Linked DNA regions of Homo sapiens: region 1 is linked to region 2. The links are contacts of gene promoters, found by promoter capture Hi-C in blood cells and fetal thymus (Javierre and others, 2016). All regions are on one chromosome and are shown on one strand. The core of a region is centred on a gene start or on the middle of the fragment in contact, and the rest is flanking DNA. Distances in the headings are between cores, read along the strand shown. Region 1 overlaps CRNKL1 (crooked neck pre-mRNA splicing factor 1). Region 2 holds the start of ESF1 (ESF1 nucleolar pre-rRNA processing protein).

Evidence for each region. Contacts are between HindIII fragments. The CHiCAGO score rates a contact against its expected background, and 5 or more counts as called.
Region 1: a fragment that was not itself captured here is called in contact with the fragment with the promoter of ESF1 in region 2 in 1 of 17 cell types (total CD4 T cells); the score reaches 8.2 in total CD4 T cells.

Annotation. Positions count from the first base shown.
Region 1 is chr20:20,043,945-20,047,421 of GRCh38, forward strand. It overlaps CRNKL1 (crooked neck pre-mRNA splicing factor 1), which reads right to left. Exons shown (of 14, transcript NM_001278628.2): 6 at 1,364-1,542. Among named protein-coding and RNA genes, the nearest start is that of CRNKL1, 6.8 kb to the right of the region's middle. The HindIII fragment of the contact is 1,375 bases long and covers 1,033-2,407 here.
Region 2 is chr20:13,783,005-13,786,180 of GRCh38, forward strand. ESF1 (ESF1 nucleolar pre-rRNA processing protein) reads right to left here and starts at 1,915. Exons shown (of 14, transcript NM_001276380.2): 1 at 1,876-1,915; 2 at 1-179. The coding sequence starts at 136. NDUFAF5 (NADH:ubiquinone oxidoreductase complex assembly factor 5) reads left to right here and starts at 2,024. Exons shown (of 11, transcript NM_024120.5): 1 at 2,024-2,286. The coding sequence starts at 2,065. RefSeq lists enhancers at 1,960-2,249, 2,245-2,934. The HindIII fragment of the contact is 9,427 bases long and covers 1-3,176 here.

The DNA of each region.
Region 1 (3,477 bases), core at 470-2,969, 6.3 Mb after region 2:
CTCAAACTGGGACTCTCCCCATCTTCCCAATTTTAGTAGGCAAGGCCTAACCTACAGTCACTTGCTCAAGCCAAAACCTTCAGGTGATCCTCAATTCCTCTTTTTTCCTCATACTCCATATTCACTCTTGCAACATGCCCTACCATTTCAATCTCTTCCACACAGCCATTTGCTTCTCCCCAGCCCCCAGCCATCAAACTCCACTGTTCACCTGGCCCACTTCAAAAGTCTCCCCACTGGTCTCCCCTGGTTCCACTTTTGCCATCTACCCTCATACATTCTCCATGAATTAGCCAGAGGCTCTCCTTAAAATATAAATCATATCCAATCACTGTCCCGCTTAAAACCTTTCAATGCTTCCCACTGGCCCGAACAGAATCTGAACTCCCTAGCATGGTCCGTGCAAGACCTTATATAGGTTGAGTATCTCTTGTCTGAAGCATTTGGTATCAGAAGTGTTTTGGATTTGGGATGTTTCCCCAGTTTGGGAATATTTGCATTATACTTACTGGTTCAGCATCCCTAATCCAAAAACCCGAAGTCTGAAATGTTCCAATGAACATTTCCTTCGAGTGTCATGTCAGCACTCAACAAGTTTCACATTTTGAGTTTTGGATTTTCAGACTGGGAATGCTCAAACCTGTATTTGGATGGATCTCAATTCTGTATTATTTGAACTCCCTTTTTTTTTAAGAAATGGGGTCCTGCTCTGTCACCCAGGCTAGAGTGCAATGGCACGAACATAGCTCATTGTAGTCTCAAACTCCTAGGCTCAAGTGATACTCCTGCCTCAGCTTCCCAAGTAGCTGGGACTGTAGGTGTGCACCACTATGCCCACTCAATTTTTTTTTTTAGAGACAGGGTCTCACTATGTTGCCCAGGCTGGTCTCAAACTCCTGGCCTCAAGTGATCCTTCTGCCTCATCTTCTCAATATTTGAGCTATTTTCATAGGTACAAGGGAAAAAAAGAACTCTCTTATTTGTAGGGCAATCTCTGTTTCCATTCTAAATGTTTTCTGTTCTAGGGCTTTAAGCTTTTTGTTTCCCATATTTATTATCGGTTAAGTCCTTTACTTAGGATGCCAAAAGACTAGTTCTCAGTTTACGGGCATTCAGACTAAAAGGCTTAATTTTCAAACAAAGCACAATAAAATTAAGACAGTTATAATACAATCTATAATCAGCTCCCATCTGTAGCTTAGTCACATATATATGCTGTTCTCTGTGAGAAGCTGTGTTTTTGTATTTTGAAAACATCTTTCCAGGGATATGTCAGTAAGAAAAAATGGAAATGAACTCACCATGCACAAAATGTAATCTTTGCTAAGCTGTTTTACAGTATAATGAAGTTAGGTATACTTACCTCTTTCTGATTTTCTTCAAACTTGGCAAAGGCAACATAAAGGTGCTCATCCATATGTTCATCTCCAAAGAATTCCACAGCTCTCTCATACACTTTCCGTGCATGGGCAAAATAAGCATGTTTTTCTTCAAAGCGGGCATACTTGATCCAGTTCTTAACATCAGGGTGCACGAGGACAAGTGCAAGGGAATTAAGGAAATCCCAGGCAAAACAGCATGGCTTAAAAAAATAGTAAGTAAGTAAACACCAAAACCATACCAAAGCCTGGAAACTCCAAAAATTCAAACTACAACTCTAGGGGAACAAAACACATACAAAAGTGTAGAATTAAACAGTGGCTTCTGTGAGAGCAGGGCCACGCCTGTTCATCTCTATTTTCCTCCAGTGCTTAGTTAAGATTTTAGTGGTGGGTATAAACTCGAGTTGGAAGCAAAGAAAAATCTCAACCCAGGTTACCAACCATGTGATCTTGGATAAGTCACTGAACTTAGACGTCTAAGTCTCAGCTGTTTCATTTGTAAACAGGGAAAAATAATGCCAGCCTCACTGGATTACTGCCAGCTTTAAATGAGAAAATGTATGTAAAGCCCTTAGCACAGTTTCTAGCCAAAAGAACATGGCACCGTAAGCGGTCAATAATGGTCTGGTCATTAAATAGCACCAATTATATTAAAATATGAATACTTGAACTAATAATTAAGAAAAAAACATGCTATAAAAAGAAAACTGTTAACTAGAGTCAAAGCAGAAAGTTTTGAATTGTCATTTTAATCTATCTTCCTTGAATAAATCATTAATTTCCAAAGTAGTAATATATTCCAATATGGCAAAGAAGAGCATCAGTTCTGAAGCTGCTCTACTAGGTTCACATTCTATTTCCATCAGCACCTGTGAGAACCCAGTCAAGCTACTTAATCTCTCATGCCTCAGCTCCCTCATCTGTAGGACAGAGAAGTTCCTACACTGCAAGGATGTTATGAGGATTAAACAACAATATCTGTAAAGTACTTAGAATACTGCCTGGCACGTAGCAAGTGCTATAAAAGCTTTCGTCAAACTAATAATATTAAAATTAGTAGACATAATTAAGATCTTAACATTGTCACCTCAACAGAGAAGAGTAAAAAAATAAAAAGATCTTAATACTGCATAATAAAGTTGACTCTCATTATTTCTGGTAGTTATGTTCTATTTAGTCAATGCGAACACTTAATTATTGAGTACTGAACCACTGCTCCTAGGAGAAACGTGTATATATACAATCTCACATTCATCATCATCTTAAATCCTAAAAAGAACTCATCCTGGCAGATTCTATCTTCATTATTTTGTAAGAAAAGTGGTTCAGAAATGTTAAGTGACTGGACTGAGGCTGCCCCACTGACAGGGATTCAAACTCCCCGACTGGCCCCAGAGCCACAGCTCCTTGCACTACATGGCACTGGCCCTTCCTGTCTCCAAGCTCTAGGCATGGTTATATGAGGTTAAGACCAGAAGGCAAGCCTCACCTTGTTGGACTTCATGCTCTGTGCATGTCCACAAATGACTGTGAAAGTGCCACAATTACTGATTTTGGGGGTTACAAATAAATTTTAGCAAATACGTGATTTTGCAAACATGGAATCTGCAAATAGTGAGGAATGACTGTACTTCAGTTTCTAAAAGTGCTTTCATGTGTATCATTTAATCTTCGCAACAGCCCAACAAAGGTGTTTTTATTCTTGTTTTTAAGAAGAGGACACCAACTCTCAAAGGAGTTAAATGACTCTCTGGAGCCACACAGCTAGTAAACAGTAAACCTTGGATGAACTCCAGTAAGGTAGTAATGACCAACACAAACCTTAGAAAAACAGGACTGGCAATGGCAGCCAGGACCTTAGTACAGTTAGTCCTCCAGCCATGGGTTCCATATCTGTGGATTCAACCAACCTGAGATAAAGTATTCGTGAGAAAAAAGTGCTTCTGTATTGAACATGTCGTTTTTTTGCTTATTATTCCTTAAAATATACAGAATAACAATTATTTATATAACATTTACATTGCATTAGGTATAAGTAATCTAGAGATTATTTGAATTATATGGGAGGCTATGCATAGGTTACATGCAAATACTA
Region 2 (3,176 bases), core at 665-3,164:
TCTTGTCATGAAACATGGCTCGAAATCTCTTGTCAATTTTGACTTTTCGATCCTTTTCTGGCATTTCCCAAAATCTCGGGTCCTTTGCAACCCGTCTAAACCGCTGGTCACTCATTATTTCTTGTTTGGATGACATTTTTAATTCTTAATCTCGACCAAATGCTTGAAGAAAACAAATACTGAAAAATAAAACAAATGTTTTAATGGTAATAATGGTTAGTACAATAATTAAATGTTTTAAAACACATTCACAATATATTCTAAGTTAATATATTCTAAGTTAAGTGTACATAAAATAGAGGTAACAAGTCTAATTTCATCTCTCCAACGTATTCTGGGTCACATGCAAAAAAGCAGAAACATACCAAAATATCCTCTTTCCATGACAGATCATTTAGAGAAATAAACTTAAGGTAGACAAAGCAGAATCCCAGGGCTTTATGGAGGGGAACAAATGTTTATTCATCCATTGCTCTCACTTAGAATTTCTATTTGTATACCAGTATGTGTTACTAATTGAAGGCAAATGTAGTTAAGATTCCCTAGGCCGAGTGCGGTGGCTCACCAGCACTTTCGGAGGCCAAGGCGGGCGGATCACTTGAGCCCAGGAGTTCAGGACCAGCCTGGGTAACATGGTGAATCCCCACAAGAAATACAAAAATGAGCCCGGCATGGTGGCGCGCGCCTGTAGTCCCAGCTACTTTGGAGGCTAAGGCAAGAGGATCACTTCCACCCGGGAGGTCTTGGCTAGAGTGAGCCTAACGGCACTACAGCACACCAGCTGGGGCAACAGAGTGAGACCCTGTCTACCAAAAAAAAGTAAGAAAGAAAGATTCCCTAGCCTCCGTTGGCCTCATTTGTTTCTTCACATTCTGGTCTCATTCTGCTTACTCCTTATCTCCGGCTACTGCCAACAAACAGCCTTTAGTTCTGTAAGACTAGCATTCTAACTAAACAGACCAAAATCAACTCAGGTTTAGCTAAGAAAGTTTCCTTTTTAAATTCGATCATCCTTCAAAAGTAATAAAAAGTTTAAAAATAAAAAGTAAATTTGAGTCTCCAGGTAAAGTCTCACACCAGTTAATAAATATCACTTCTTTCTATAATATCTGATTCTACCAGTGATGAAGGCCCAAGTGAGCTCATTCCCCCAAAACATACTAGAACATATACATATGTGTGTATAAATTAATATTGTTCCCTTGTGAAAAGTCTCCAATGGTTTAGCATCTCTGGATGGGAATTTTGCAAAGAGCCAAAAGTCGTTGATTATTAAGCAACCCCCCCCCAAAATGATTAAAAGGGCAATATTTCTTATTTAAAAATCAAGTCCTTTTAATTACACTAACTAGGAAAAAAAAGGAAGCTATCGCTGGTGCATTTACACATTTTTCGATGTATTACAGCACTTAACTCTCTGAGCAATCTTACGAGGTAGGTACCACCTCAACCAGGAGAAGTACTGCATGTATTGTAAATGTTTAGAAGGAAAGCACTCATTATATGTCAGATAATCCGAGAGAGGGGAAGGCGACCGGACCTCACTCCCGACACGCGCCCGCATCCCCGTAGCCCACCCTCCCCTTCTGCCCGCTCTCTAATTCGGAGAACACAGGGCTGGCCCCTGAACTAGGGTCTCCTTTCCACCTCCTGTACCGCAGGGGGGCAGCTAACAGACTGATTCGAGAAGCGACCCTGAAAAGGATCGATGAAGACTGAAGAATGAGACCGAAAAAGGCTCAGGAGGAAGGGGCAAAACCCCTCGCAGATCCGAAAGAGATCCTGTTAGAGACTAGTTTTTTCCCCGCGCCACACACACACACGCCCTCAAGCCCTTCATCTCGAGCTCTTCAACTCCAGTCCATCCCCACTCACCGTCCGCAGTCCTACCAAGCCTCACGTGGGGCTCACACCCACAATCCTCCGCGTGACGCTCCGCCGTAATGGCAAGCGAACTAGGCCAAACTACTTGCACGTTCCCTCGAGAAGATCTTTGGAGTAGACACAAAAGCCGCGCTGGCGCATGCGCACAAAAAGCGCCGGCAATTGGGGTCGCAGCTGGAGATGCTGCGGCCGGCAGGGCTCTGGCGCTTATGTCGGCGACCTTGGGCGGCGAGGGTCCCAGCGGAGAATCTTGGCCGTAGGGAAGTCACCTCTGGTGTCTCTCCCCGCGGTAGCACCTCGCCCAGAACCCTGAATATTTTCGACCGGGATTTGAAAAGGAAACAGAAGAACTGGGCAGCCCGGCAGCCCGAGCCGACCAAATTTGACTACCTGAAGGAGGAGGTGAGCCCGCGGGGCGGCGGGGCGGCGGGGCGGGCGACGCGGAGGCTTGTTTTCCTCTCCGCTAGTTCCGGCTAGGCCCCGAGCTCACCCCACCTAGCCGTCTGACCTTGACCAGCAGCCCTGCCTCTTTCGGCCTCTACTGTAATCACGCAAGGCCTGGCCTCGGATATTTGTAACATGCTTTCATTCATTCATGCATTCATTTCGGCAACGTCCTTGAGGCTGAAAGGACCTTATAGAGGCCTCCAGTGAAGCTCCGGAGAGGGAGAGAGTGGGAGAGAAGGTTAGGAGGACCCAAATCATCAGGGCCTTGCAGGATAGGGACTTGGGGTTTTCTTCTGTATCTGCACTGTCCAGCCAGTATGGTAACTGCCGGCCACACATGTGGCTGTTGAACACTTGAAAGGTGACTAGTCCAATTGAGATGTGTTGTAAAATACACACGAGTATAGTGACTTAGTATGAAAAAAGGATGTAAAATAGCTCATTAAGAGCTTTTATATTGATTACATGTTGCAGTGATTATTTTTGATATATTGGGTCACATGAAATATATTAAATATAAATTTAAATTTTTCAATTAAAATTTCTCTCGTTTTTACTTTTTTTCTTATGTGGCTACTAGAAAATTTGAAATTACATATGTGGCTCTCATGATTTTTGGTCAGCACTGCTCTAGGGGAATGTGAAGCTCTTGTTTTAATCAGTGGAGTGATCTGACTTATGTTTTAGGAAGATCAAATTAAGATTTCTGATTTGTCTTGGCTCGTTTGAGAAACCTTTCTCCCTGCCCAGGTGAGCCAGAGACTGAGGGTTTCTACTTTCAGGACACGCATTCTCAAGTTCAGGCCTCAGTAAATTTTTATTCAGGAGTGGAACAAAGTTGGAGT